Regions from separate parts of the Homo sapiens genome. Here all the other regions are linked to region 3. The links are contacts of gene promoters, found by promoter capture Hi-C in blood cells and fetal thymus (Javierre and others, 2016). All regions are on one chromosome and are shown on one strand. The core of a region is centred on a gene start or on the middle of the fragment in contact, and the rest is flanking DNA. Distances in the headings are between cores, read along the strand shown.

The links. Contacts are between HindIII fragments. The CHiCAGO score rates a contact against its expected background, and 5 or more counts as called.
Region 1: a contact is called between a fragment that was not itself captured here and the fragment with the promoter of YY1 in region 3, in 1 of 17 cell types (activated CD4 T cells). The highest score is 5.9, in activated CD4 T cells.
Region 2: a contact is called between the fragment with the promoter of DYNC1H1 here and the fragment with the promoter of YY1 in region 3, in 1 of 17 cell types (neutrophils). The highest score is 6.4, in neutrophils.
Region 4: a contact is called between a fragment that was not itself captured here and the fragment with the promoter of YY1 in region 3, in 1 of 17 cell types (neutrophils). The highest score is 5.0, in neutrophils.

What each region holds. Positions count from the first base shown.
Region 1 is chr14:101,832,754-101,836,109 of GRCh38, forward strand. The region is part of intron 3 of PPP2R5C (protein phosphatase 2 regulatory subunit B'gamma); the gene reads left to right. Among named protein-coding and RNA genes, the nearest start is that of PPP2R5C, 73 kb to the left of the region's middle. RefSeq lists an enhancer at 1-462. The HindIII fragment of the contact is 5,116 bases long and covers 1-3,356 here.
Region 2 is chr14:101,962,939-101,966,068 of GRCh38, forward strand. It overlaps DYNC1H1 (dynein cytoplasmic 1 heavy chain 1), which reads left to right and starts at 1,635. Exons shown (of 78, transcript NM_001376.5): 1 at 1,635-2,009. The coding sequence starts at 1,754. RefSeq lists enhancers at 1,188-1,327, 1,372-1,982, 1,983-2,592 and silencers at 1,468-1,627, 2,118-2,327. The HindIII fragment of the contact is 2,903 bases long and covers 255-3,130 here.
Region 3 is chr14:100,237,815-100,241,216 of GRCh38, forward strand. It overlaps YY1 (YY1 transcription factor), which reads left to right and starts at 1,330. Exons shown (of 5, transcript NM_003403.5): 1 at 1,330-2,109. The coding sequence starts at 1,431. YY1-DT (YY1 divergent transcript) reads right to left here and starts at 807. Exons shown (of 2, transcript NR_189150.1): 1 at 657-807. RefSeq lists enhancers at 392-1,244, 2,082-2,241 and silencers at 482-1,081, 1,142-1,221, 1,372-1,441, 1,932-1,981, 2,252-2,931. The HindIII fragment of the contact is 3,842 bases long and covers 1-2,979 here.
Region 4 is chr14:101,810,813-101,814,160 of GRCh38, forward strand. The region is part of intron 3 of PPP2R5C (protein phosphatase 2 regulatory subunit B'gamma); the gene reads left to right. It overlaps LOC124903388 (a long non-coding RNA gene), which reads right to left and starts at 178. Exons shown (of 2, transcript XR_007064349.1): 1 at 1-178. The HindIII fragment of the contact is 2,427 bases long and covers 123-2,549 here.

The sequences.
Region 1 (3,356 bases), core at 50-2,549, 1.6 Mb after region 3:
CCCTCTGTGTCCTCATCCACCCCGCCACTCCCAGTCTTTGCGTGTCATGCCCCTTCTTCCCCGCGCTTTACCGTGTAATTTCTCTGCATGCTCTTCTGCATTTACTCAGTAACATAATACAGTTAGCAGTTGTGGGACCTCCAGCAAGTATTGAACTGTTGAGTGGCTGTTCTTCATTTGGAAAATGGGAGTGATAACAGTTTCTCTCTCACAGGACAGTTGTGGATAGTCAGGGAGGTTGCAGTGTGAACACTAGGCACAGCATCTGAAACGTGCTGGAATCAGTCATGTCCACACTGGCAGTGATTAGATCTGCCTGATTCTTCCCATGTTCCGTCTAGTGAGAAGTCGTCAGTAGCTTCAGTTTTCAGGAGGAAAACTTTGACTTGGTCAAAACTTTGTCCTTGATCAAGTTGTTTACTCTCACGCCAAGCCGCCCTGGAGTGTGGTCCAGGAAAAACATGGGCGCCTAGGTCCGCCCCTCGGCCAGCCGTGGCCAGAGGTCACTGGTGCTGCTGTTCACATGGCCGGTGTCAGGGTTTTAATTCGAGGTGGAGCTTCCCAGCCGTTCTGGTAATGAGGAGTCTTGCCTGATATGTCTTGGCCAGCTCTGATTGGTCAAATGTTTGAAGAAGATAGGGTTACCAAAGATTCCTAGACTCTCCAAGTTTGGCAGAAGTTGTTAGAGGATCACACAGTTACCTAAAATGATTGGTTTAATTATATGGTTTGATCATTCTTCAGAAACCACCACCTTGGGTAAACCATTGTTCTTAATTTTCCCTTCATTTTTTGCTCTCATTGTCTGGCCCCAAAGACACACCCCCTTGCGATTTTGTAAAGGATGCATTTCATTGAGAGGACACAGTATGAGGGAGCAGCACATGGACCTAAACTTGACTTCCACCACCCCCAGCCAGATGAATTGCTGAGTCAGTTCACTGTTCCAAAACTGTTTTCTCAAGGCATTATGGTAACAGGCCATGTGAAATTCCCTAACATGACTAGGGGTTTTCACTTCCCAGCTTTATTCAATCCAAGGGTTTTTTTGGCATTTTTTGTTTTTAAGACGGAGTCTCGCTCTGTCACCCAGGCTGGAGTGCAGTGGCGCGATCTCAGCTCACTGCAACCTCTGCCTCCAGGGTTCAAGTGATTCTCCTGCCACAGCCTCCCATGTAGCTGGGATTACAGGCACCCGCCACCTGCCACCACGCTCGGCTAATTTTTGTATTTTTGTAGAGATGGGGTTTCACCGTGTTGGCCAGGCTGGTCTCAAAACTCCTGACCTCAAGTGATCCACCTGCCTCAGCCTCCCAAAGTGCTGGGATTACAAGCGTCAGCCACCACACCCGGCCTGAATCAGTTTTGACATTGTCTCTTCCTCTGGGTGGCAAATGTGATCCATTCAAGACAGATTATATCCCATGTGAAGAGTCACCCTGAGAATTTGAGCAGGGTGTGCTGTGTGGTTACTTGGACTCCAGACCCTTGTCTGCAGAACTGGTGGGACCTTGACTGGGTCCGGTTCTCCTGTCTGCACATGCAGGCCATGGAGGTGCTGAGGTTGCAGCAGTGACGGCAGCACTGAGGGTCAGCTTCAGGGGGACCCTCTTCAAGCCAAACAAAAAGTCTTCTCAAAAAATGGAACTAAAGATGGTCCCTTGATGTGGCGTCTCAGTACGGCTGCTGAGGTATCTCACAAGGCCACCAGCAAGTTAATCTAAGGAGGCATTTTCCTCTTGTGATCAGGCAGCTGTTCCAGCAGAAATGGCTCAAGGAGAAATTCTCCTCCCAGATTCAGTGTCTGGTGGGTGAAACTTCACTGGTGCGTTGCCAGCCCTGGCCTCCAAATCTCTTTAAATTATGAGGTCATAGAATGCATGCTTAAAGCCCCAGGCCTGTCAAGTCGCTTGGGGACATTCATACTGAGGATTTATTAAGATATTAATTTGGTTATCAGGAGTCTGGATGGGGATGAGAGGAGGGGATCTTTATTACATGCTGGGAAAATCAGAAATCAACTCTAATTGACTACCTCTACTCTTTCCTCTCCCAAGATGACTTTGCCAAAAAGCTGTGAGAAAAAGTCCTCAAATCTCAGAGATTGACTTGGTACTTGATTATATCCAGCTCGCTGGTGGGCCTGTGGCCACAGAGCCTCAGAAGAAGGTTAGAAGGTCTGGCCAGACTTTAGCTTTGCTCCACCTACTTGGCAGGGTCAAGCCTACTTGCCAGTGGCTTGGAGAAGTGTTTTGTTTTGTTTTGTTTACTTTTTAGGAGTGTATTCAAAGCACATTCACAGTAAGGAAAAAAAAAATGCAGCCTGTGTCTTCAGGGACTGGGAGTCTCTGATTCCAGCACAGCCGACTGTCCAGCAACCCCAGAATTGGTAGGCTGGACACTGGGCTGCTCCTCATGGCGGTGGGAGCATGGGCTGCTCAGCTGGGGCCATCCAAGGAAGCAAAGATGTGGTGCTGTCCTGTGGCTGGGGGAGCAGGATGAATTGGGATAAGGGAAGCCCAGGGCAGGGTGTTGGCACAGAGCTGGGAGGTGCATTACACCGAGGAACTGACGTGGCCTAAACTCCACAGTGACTTCCACCTGGGATCACAGTTTACAGTCAGCTGAGTGCTCAAGAGAACTCAGTAGAGGGGAATGTTGATGATTCAGGTATTTGGTTGGTGATCATGTTATCAAGTCAGACTTGCAGTTAAGGTAGTGTCCCAGACGTTTGTTCAGAGGGCTCCTTCCCACTTGTCATCTGTAATACTGGCTAATGGGAAACCTGGCCCATGTCAAATTTGTATTAGGAACCATTGATTTCAATTCACGGGCTTTTTCCATTGAGGAATTTAAAGGTCTTAGAAGTAATATTCTTGTTAAGGCATCTGAGGTCTCCCGGGGGACAGACACAGTCTTCATCTTGAGCAGGAACGGTGAGACCACTCTTCTCCCTGTAAGGGACCAGTAGCATGTGTGGGACCACGCCGCCTGCACAGCCGTCCCCTCACGGGGTGCCTCTTGCCCTTGCAGATCACCAGGTGCTCCGAGCTGCCCTGCCTGGGCTCAGGCATCAGCACGGTCCCATCTGAGCGTCGCCTTAACCTCTCTGTAGACCTCTGTCCTTGTCTATCTAATGGGGATGATGGTAGCCCCTCTGTGTGTTCTTACTAGGATTAGTGGGCTGGGAAAAGTTACAGTAATATATTACCAGCATGTAGAAAATACCCAATAATGATGAACTATTAGTATTCCTTAAAAGAATTAAAAGTGAAAATAGTAGGAAACACTAGTAAGATAAAATACAATGGGAAATTAAATTTTTTTAATTACTTAAGGAAATTCCTCAATCCACA
Region 2 (3,130 bases), core at 385-2,884, 1.7 Mb after region 3:
GTGGTGTGTTATTATTATTCATTACCATTAGGATCCTTGCACAAACTCATCGCAGTTGCCTATTTATTTTTTCCAGGAAGATTACTCGGAACTGCTTAGGCACATCACACCAGGGCGGACTGATGGAGAGCAGGAAGATGGGGTATTCATCTGTCCCCTCTTCCACATGCTCCTTAAAGACAAGAATCATCTGATTAGTCTCCGTGTTCCAGCAACCCCCTGGGACCCAGCAACCGGTAATTAGGCAAGGAATAAGCTTATTGTATGTTTCACAGTTTTTCAAAGATGATTTGGGAGAATCAAATCATACCATCATCATTCCACCAATCAGGACTCGGCACTCTGACAGTGCACTTTGATGTTTAAAAAAAACAAAAAAACCAAAAAAAAAAAAAACGCCATTGGCTTCCCTCTCTCCACCCAACTTAAGAAAGAAGTTATGAATGTGAACTTTCAAAGGCCAATTACTACCCCTTAGAAGAACCTACCATCTCTAAACTACAAAGATGGGCAGCCTGGATTCTATTATTTTTATTATTTTACAAAATTCTTAATTTTTAAATACACATAGATATAGGGTCTCGCTAGGTTGACCAGGCTGGTCTTGGAACTTCTGGCCTCAAGCAATCCTCCCATCTCAGCCTCTCAAAATGCTAGGATTACAGGTGTGAGCCACCGCACCCAGCTGGGCAGCCTGGATTCTGGCTCTTATGTAGTCATGGTGTAGGGGAGGAGGTCGTGGTGGGTCCGAACTAGGGGGAAACTTGGTGGGCAGGCAACCCAGCCCCTGCCTTGTACGGACCCAGATACTGAGGCCCACAGAATGACAGTGCCAGCTCTAGGGGGCTGGAGGAGAGCCATTGCTGGAGGTAGCTGTTCTCAGTAGGTCTCCCTCTTGGTCCTCACAGCGTCCTCGGGGACAATGATTTTTGTCATTAGGAACCAGATCCCATCACAGCTTGGCTTTACGTACAGTGAAGGTGTCATTCCTGGCTTAACCTTACACTGCCCCGAAGGCCCCCTCCCCAGCTGTCCGTTTCCAGCCTGGCAATGGGACTCTCTGAGCACGCCCCTCATCTCCTCCCCCTCTGAAAAGTATCCTCAATCTCCCGGTCTATATCTAATAACACATCTGTCGTGCCTATATTTTGGTACCTGATACGTAGTCATTCATTCATTCAATGAGAGAACATTTAATGAGAGGTTAAGGGGCTTAGAACAACGCCGGGCACAGGCTAAGCGCTCACTAAACGTTAGCTCTCGCCAATAACATCACTGATTCACTATAAAGTTTCTCTGGCTGTGTGCTATTCGCTGCGTCCACAGCAGTGAAGAAGACAGACGCAGCCCCTGACCAACCTCGCCAAGCCCGGGCGCCGAGCCAGGACGTTGAGCCAAGTCCCCATCTCCTAGGACTCGCAGTGCGGAGGCTGCGGGCCCCGACCAGCGCCGAGACTACAAGTCCCAGAAGGGCGCGCGGCGACATCGCCGGGCCCGCCCCCCGCGCACGCGCGGCGCCGTGACGCTAAGGCCGCGAGCGAGCGCGGGTGGCTGCGGCGGCTGCGGCCGGCGGGGCGGGGCGGGGCCACCTGGCAGTGGCTGCCTTTAGGGCGGAGCCGGCTCCCGCTCTCCTCAGTCTGCGGTGGGCTAGCGGACGGTCCGGCTTCCGGCGGCCGTTTCTGTCTCTTGCTGGCTGTCTCGCTGAGTCGCGGCCGCCTTCTCATCGCTCCTGGAAGGTCCCGAGCGCGACACCATGTCGGAGCCCGGGGGCGGCGGCGGCGAGGACGGCTCGGCCGGATTGGAAGTGTCGGCCGTGCAGAATGTGGCGGACGTGTCGGTGCTGCAGAAGCACCTGCGCAAGCTGGTGCCGCTGCTGCTGGAGGACGGCGGCGAGGCGCCGGCCGCGCTGGAGGCGGCGCTGGAGGAGAAGAGCGCCCTGGAGCAGATGCGCAAGTTCCTTTCGGACCCGCAGGTCCACACGGTGCTGGTGGAGCGCTCCACGCTCAAAGGTGCGGGGCCGCGGAGGGCAGGGTCGCCAGAGCCAGGCCTCGCGGAATGCAGGGCCTGCCAGGTCCTCCGGGGTCGCAGATGTCCCCGGGATGGGAGGAGCCCGGCAGCTGCAGATGACCCCTGGATGGGCAGAGCCCGGCGGCCGCAGACGTCCCGCCGGCCGGGTCCCCAGGGCCGCAGACGCCCCGCAGAGGCCGGCGCGGCGCCCGGGGCTCGCCCTCGCCACACCCACTGCCCGGCCCGGAGCCCCCAGGGCGCCCCGCTCCTGGTCGCGGGGAGGGGAAAGGGGTCCCCGTCTGCCGTCACCCAAAACAATGGGGTCGCTTTGTCTGCTCGGGCCTCTCAAGATGGCCGAGTTGGGTGGAGACAGCGTCTCCCTGGGCTGAGAGCGGGCGAGGCCGCATCCCTGCCTCCAGTGTCACATGAGCTTTTCGGTTTCGATTTGTGTCCAAGCCAAGTGGCCTTCGGGAGGGATGTGTCGGGGGCAGACCCGCGGAGCTGGGGGCAGCCGGGGTTCTGGTTCGGGAGGAGGTCGGGCGGGTGTCCCAGCCCTGCCTTGTGGGGACCCAGAGGCCGAGGCCCACAGAGCGACGGTGCCAGCCCCGGGCCTGCGAGCATCACTGTTGTAGGTGGATGCTCTCACAGCATCCTTGCTGAACGGGTGTATCCTGATTTTACACCTGAGGAAACTGAGGCTCAGGTTAAGTGATTTCACCCAAGGTCACCAGCTAATCTTAGTCCTGAGACTAGACTCAGTGTCTCAGCTCCCCATCCACTGCTTGTTTTCACTGATCATACCTCATATTTGTTTAATGCTTCGATGATGTTAATGATAACCCTGTAATATTTGAGTCTAATTTTACAGATTAAAAAAAAAAAAAAAGATTCAGGTTAGGCACCTAGTAGGGGGAAGAGGCTAGAGTTAGCGTGTTCCAGCTGTCTCCTCAAATAATGATCGCCCACCAGCAAGGTTACATTCATCTAAGTCTGGGGCTTGCCTGCAGGCAGGCTTTCTCATGGATTCATTACAACCACTTTGTAGCCCATTACAACCACTTTGGGTGTGGCGTGTCCATCTAAGAACCTAAGGATGATGTCCAAGGTTAGCCTCTAGGGATTG
Region 3 (3,402 bases), core at 80-2,579:
ACGGCTGAAAAAATTTGGAATTTTAAATGAGACAAATGCAAAACCTGGTGGGCGTAAAAAGGAGCACCTATGAAAGTGACAAATAGGGGGAAAGGGTGGGCAAGGGAAACAATGGCTGACTGGAGAGCAAAGAAGGGGAAGCTCAGGAGAAAATTTTAGAAAGCCGCCAGGACCCTGTAGTTCTAAGATCTACGGGGAAACAGGCACCCAACGGCTGCGTCTCAGGTTTCCGCGGGTCACTAAAGAATAACGGACATCCTCCCAACGGTGGCCCTGGGGCTCCGCGGGCGCTTCCGCCGAGCTCGCGCCGACCCCGCGCTCGGCCCCGCACCCCGCCGGGCGCTCGCGGCGAGATACCGGACGCTGCCCGCGTCGCCCGATTTTGTCCGTTCGGTCCTCCACACTCACCCCGCGGCCATCGCTCGCCCGAAGCCAGGCGACAAGAACAAACACCTCCCGACGCGAAAAAGGAAGCACAGGCGATTCTCGTCAAAGCAGACTTTATTGGGGCGACAGGGCCGCCCCGCACGCGCCAGCCGCTCCCCGCGCGGCCCCCGGGCCGCCCACCCGCCTCAACCCCGCTCCCGGCCGGCCCCTCCCTCCCTTCTCCTCAGGCTCCCGCCCCCGTGGTGCCCGGGGCCGCGCGGACCGCTCACCGGCTCCCAAGGCAGCGGCTGTAGCGGCGACGCCCCGTTCCCGAGTGCGGCCCCGGCCCGAGGCGGCGGGTTTTGTGGCTGTTGCACCGCGAAGGGCGGCAGCCGCGCGACACCGGGAAGCGGGAGGCGGTGGCGGCGGCGGCGGCGCGCTGACGTCACGCGCCGCGGGCCAGCCAGGGCGCGTGCGAGCCGCCCCGCCCCCGGTCCCATCGGCCCCAATCCGGGAGGAGCCCGGCGAGTGGGCGGGGCCGCGGAGGCCAGCGGACAGATCGATTGGCCGAGAGGAGAATCGAGAGGGCGAACGGGCGAGTGGCAGCGAGGCGGGGCGGGCTGAGGCCAGCGCGGAAGTCTCGCGAGGCCGGGCCCGAGCAGAGTGTGGCGGCGGCGGCGAGATCTGGGCTCGGGTTGAGGAGTTGGTATTTGTGTGGAAGGAGGCGGAGGCGCAGGAGGAAGGGGGAAGCGGAGCGCCGGCCCGGAGGGCGGGAGGAGGCGCGGCCAGGGCGGGCGGTTGCGGCGAGGCGAGGCGAGGCGGGGAGCCGAGACGAGCAGCGGCCGAGCGAGCGCGGGCGCGGGCGCACCGAGGCGAGGGAGGCGGGGAAGCCCCGCCGCCGCCGCGGCGCCCGCCCCTTCCCCCGCCGCCCGCCCCCTCTCCCCCCGCCCGCTCGCCGCCTTCCTCCCTCTGCCTTCCTTCCCCACGGCCGGCCGCCTCCTCGCCCGCCCGCCCGCAGCCGAGGAGCCGAGGCCGCCGCGGCCGTGGCGGCGGAGCCCTCAGCCATGGCCTCGGGCGACACCCTCTACATCGCCACGGACGGCTCGGAGATGCCGGCCGAGATCGTGGAGCTGCACGAGATCGAGGTGGAGACCATCCCGGTGGAGACCATCGAGACCACAGTGGTGGGCGAGGAGGAGGAGGAGGACGACGACGACGAGGACGGCGGCGGTGGCGACCACGGCGGCGGGGGCGGCCACGGGCACGCCGGCCACCACCACCACCACCATCACCACCACCACCACCCGCCCATGATCGCTCTGCAGCCGCTGGTCACCGACGACCCGACCCAGGTGCACCACCACCAGGAGGTGATCCTGGTGCAGACGCGCGAGGAGGTGGTGGGCGGCGACGACTCGGACGGGCTGCGCGCCGAGGACGGCTTCGAGGATCAGATTCTCATCCCGGTGCCCGCGCCGGCCGGCGGCGACGACGACTACATTGAACAAACGCTGGTCACCGTGGCGGCGGCCGGCAAGAGCGGCGGCGGCGGCTCGTCGTCGTCGGGAGGCGGCCGCGTCAAGAAGGGCGGCGGCAAGAAGAGCGGCAAGAAGAGTTACCTCAGCGGCGGGGCCGGCGCGGCGGGCGGCGGCGGCGCCGACCCGGGCAACAAGAAGTGGGAGCAGAAGCAGGTGCAGATCAAGACCCTGGAGGGCGAGTTCTCGGTCACCATGTGGTCCTCAGGTGAGCGCCGGCCGCGCGCCCCGGCCCCGGGATGTTTTTGTTTTGAAGGGAAGCCATGTTTTATGTGTGTGATGGGCGCCGCCATCTTCTTCGCCAGGGCAAGTATGGCGGCCCCAAAAGATGGCGGGCCGTGCGGCGGCGGGGGCGCGGCGGCGGCGGCGGGCGGCGGGCCGCGAAGATGGCGGCAGGCCGCGGGGGGGAGGGGCCGGCGCCGCCCGGCTAGGCCGCAATGGCGTAGTTTCTCCGAGAGGGGGAAGCGCCGCGCGGGGCGGAGACGGCCGGGGGAGGGGCCGGCGCGCTCGCTCCCCGACGCCCTCGCTCCCCGCGCCCGCATCAACGGGCGCGCCCGCCGGCCCGTTGTGGCGGCAGCTGCGCGCCCCCGGCCCGGGCGGGACGCGGGAGGTCGTTGGCGGGGCTGCGCCGCGGCCTCGCGGGCCAGGGATTGCTGCCTCCGGGACGCGCGCCCCCGCCCCCGCCCGGCGCTGCCGTTACCCCATCGGCCGCTGGAGGGCGCCGCGGGCGCTTGCCCCGCCCGCCCCCAACTTCCCCGGACTCCCAACTGCTCCCCGGTGGCACCTTCCAGAAGGAGGGGGCTTGGCACTCGTGGGCGCCCTCCGGCCTCCTTGCTCCCCGCCCACCCAGCGCCGGGCTGGACCCTGCCCCGGCGGTCACGCTCGCCCAAGTCGTCGTTTGCTGCGGGGCGGGACTTGGGGCTGCACGTAGGGCTCGCGTGTGCGGGCTCCGAGCGTCAGTCGGAGCCTGTCACCGCCGTTGCCAGCGAATTCCTGGCCTTTTCGCCTTCCTGCGGTACCTAGTGGAAAGGGCCTGTGAATGTTAGCGAATAATTCTTAGTCACTTACGTTTTGGGAAAGCTTTTTTTTTTTCCCTCAAGTATTTAGCTCTTCTGAATAGGTTGGGTTAGTTTACTCAACTGTGGACATTTGCCAGTAAATAAAATCGGGTAGTTTAATTTTAAGCCTTTATGGTTTTTACTTTGTAGAAAGGTATCTATTTTCCCCATGAAAAGAACGATAATAGAAAGCGGGTTTTTTTGAGTTTTGTTTTACTGTTTTAATACTACTTTTAACGAAGGCCTGAAAACCATCTAGAGCAAAAGGATCTTATCTGCCTGTGTAAAATCTGTTTTTACTTCAAAGGCAATTATTAATTCAATGCTGGTTTTTTAGGTCAGTATCCTATTAGTATATTCATATGCTACCTAGCTAAATTGCTGAGATACTAAATAGACTGAGAATAATCCTGCCATCGTAGTTAATCTAATGCCTGTGATGA
Region 4 (3,348 bases), core at 86-2,585, 1.6 Mb after region 3:
AGTAATTAATAGCGGTTATATTGAACTACAGGCATCAGGGTAGTAGCCTACTTATTCTTGGTATTTTAAGATATATGAATTTTTTTTTGGTCATAATTGGGTGAAATAGAAAAATGATTTTAAGCTTCATCAGATCACTTTAGAATTTATAGTATCAGAGCTGTGCCCCAACAAAACTGTTTCTCAGAATCTCTTTTAAGGAAGGGTGGGAGCAAGATTTCTAGGTGACTAATAATCTCTATGACTAAAACGCCAGGCCAGACTTTTCAGATCCTAGGGTGTACCCAGGCACATGCAGACTCAATCTACTGGAATAAAATGGGTGGTGCTTTTCTCTCCAAACTATCTTTCATGAAGGTGGAAATCAGCATTCAATGACCAAATTGTAGGACAGGCTGTGAATTTATTGTTTTTGTAGTGCACCCAGTAAAAAGCAAAGGTTGCCTACAGGTAACATTCAGGTATTTTAGCTGCAAGAACCAAATGGGCAAGAACAAAATGTAATTGTTTGGATTTAAGTTAGATAGCTTTTGTTTGTTTTTTGGGAGACAGGGTCTCACTCTTGTCACCCAGGCTGGAGTACAGTGGTATGATCACAGCTCACTGCAGCCTCCACCTCCCGAGCTCAGGTGATTCTCCCACCTCAGTTTCTTGAGTAGCTGAGACTTCAGGCACGCACCACCATGCCCAGCTAATTTTTTAATATTTTTTGTAGAGATGGGGTTTTGCCATGTTGCCCTGGTTGGTCTTGAACTCCTGGGCTCAAGCGATCCTCCCACCTCCGCCTCCCAAAGTGCTAAGATTACAGGTAAGAGCCACTGTACCTGGCCAAGTTAGTTCTTAAAAACGAACTAGTTAGCAGTAAGATAAATTAACTGCATATAAAATGTAAATTTTTATACTTTTAAGGTATCCACTTATAAATAACATAAATCTTTTTGGTTTGTGTTTTCTGGTTTTTATTAGATGCCTAATATACTACTCAGTTTTTGAATTATGAACTTATTCTGAAATAGAATCATTTCACGTTGTGTCTTGAACCACATTGATTTTTTTTTTAAAATTCCAAGACCTTATTATGGCCAGTTTGTATTTGTTGCTGTTGGTTGGGTGGTTGGTTGCTTGCTGTATAATTGTGGAGGGAAAAAGCAGTGAAGTGTATTAGCCTGAAAGAGACTTGAGTTTTTAAGAAGGGATAACTTTGGAGACCTAAGACTAACTTCTGACTCAAACAGTGGGGGTAATTTCTAACTTCAAAATTTGAAGAACGCTTGATTTACTCATAAAGACTTTTCTGGAGCGAGCATGTTAATGTGAGATTTAGCAAAATTTGATTTATTTATTGGGCCTTAGAGTCTTAGCTTAACATCCATTGAGCAGCTCCGGTGTGCCAAGTGCTGAGCGTCATTACAGTGATTAAGTTGCAGCCCCTGTCCCAAAGGAGCGAATGGAGAGACCCAGCATAGGAGCTCTGCCACGAGAGGGCTAAAGCAAGAACACACCGGCAGGGTGCCCGGGAGAGCAGGGGCTGGTGTCAGGAGCAGAAGGAACCAAGGAGGGCTGCACCCTGGGCTACCCTGCTCACTCGGATGGGGTGGGCATGCGCTGTCCTTCCCGTTTATTTAGGAAGGAGGGGTCTTTCCCACTGAAGGAGAAATAACTTACCCAAGGTCACACAGCCTGGAAGTGGTGGAGCCAGAATCCAAACCCAGACTGTTGTGTTGTTTTGTTTTGGATCTTTTTAAAAAAATCATTTTAAAATAGGAATGTTGGCTGCTTGAAGAACATTTTGCTACAGGATTACAGTAGTGGTATTTTCCCCAATGCCTTACCATTTATTTGGCTCGGTAGCCTCTTTTTGTATAACAGTTTTGTACCTTGGGCTCATTTATTAATCATTTTACAAATATTTATTGATCCATACCACATGCCAGGCAGGGTTCTAATGTGGATATGAGCAGGGGCTATGGCCCAGCTTTCCCAGTTTACCATCCATCAGGGTGGGGACCAAGTAAGTAAGTAAGGAAAATGATCACCTGATTTGTTGTCACGATCGCTTTGACCATTATTGTCTACCAAGTAGTCTGGACTTTGCGATTAAAATGGTGAATTTGCACATCCTAATAAGTTTGAGTGTGAAAGGGACATATTTTTGAGAGTTAGTGTAAGCCCTTCTGTCTGTAGAAGGAGAGTCACCTGGAACTTGATGGCTGTGAATGTAGCTTGGTGACATAAATCCTCACTCTCAGCTGTGTCCAGGAGAACTGTCTGCTGTGGTGGAAATGTTCTGTGCTGTCCTCTGCAGCAGCCCCTGGTCACCTGCGACTGCTGAGCACTTAACATATACAGCTGAGAAAGTGAATTTTTAACTGTAGTTATTGTAAATTTAAGTGGACACACCTGTCTTGTGGCTAGGATATTGGACAGCACAGTCGTAGACTGGAATTGTTCGACTTTTTTGGAAAAGGACCAGATTGTAAGTAGCTTTGGCTTTGTGGGTGAAAGCAGCCATAGACAGTAAATGAATAGGCATAACTGTGGTCCAATAAAGCTTTATTGACAAACAGGTGACAGGCTGGATTTGGCCCATGGACCATAGTTCACCAACTCTGTTCTAGACTGTTCTTTGACTTTCGGAATTGCCTGTTAAGGATAGGAAAGCATGTTTCCTGCAGGCCTTCAGTCTAGTGCCTCCTCCCTGTGCTGGGAAGCTGGGCCAGCCGTGATGCTGTGAGGCGTGGTGGGTGGGCCCACTTCCCACCCTGCAGCGCATGCTCACTTCAGGAGCCAGGTTTAAGGCAGTGACAGCCAAGCCGGAAAGATGGTAATGGCCAGAGAGGAAGCACACAGTTTGAGCCTTTTCCAGCTGGCCCTTATTCTGGGCTTCAAGAATGTTATTAACTGCTCTCATCTTGTTCTAGTCATTAGCAAACTTATCCAGTGGATGAGTCTGTCCTTGAAAGACTCAGGAGTAGCTCCAGCCTGGTGGGATGTTGGAGAACAAACCATTCTTTTGATGTAAACCCATTTTTTCTTGGGAAGTGGAAGTCTAATGGAAAAGTTTATTTTCTCACAAGTACTTCCTGAGTCACCAATTTGTTGAAGGTCTTCACCTTTCCAATAAAAACTCATTAAAAAACATGCAAGAAGCAAGCACAGAACTCAAACCCATGGCTTTCATTTCCTGCTGCGCTAAATCTGGTGACTTAACCTATATTAATAATAACAATAGCTATACATAATGCACATGGGTTGCTAAATTAGTAACACACCTGCATGGTGTGAAGTCAGTAAGTACTAGTGAGAATGGGTGCCCCCTGTTATCTTTATTCCCTAAAATTAGGAAGG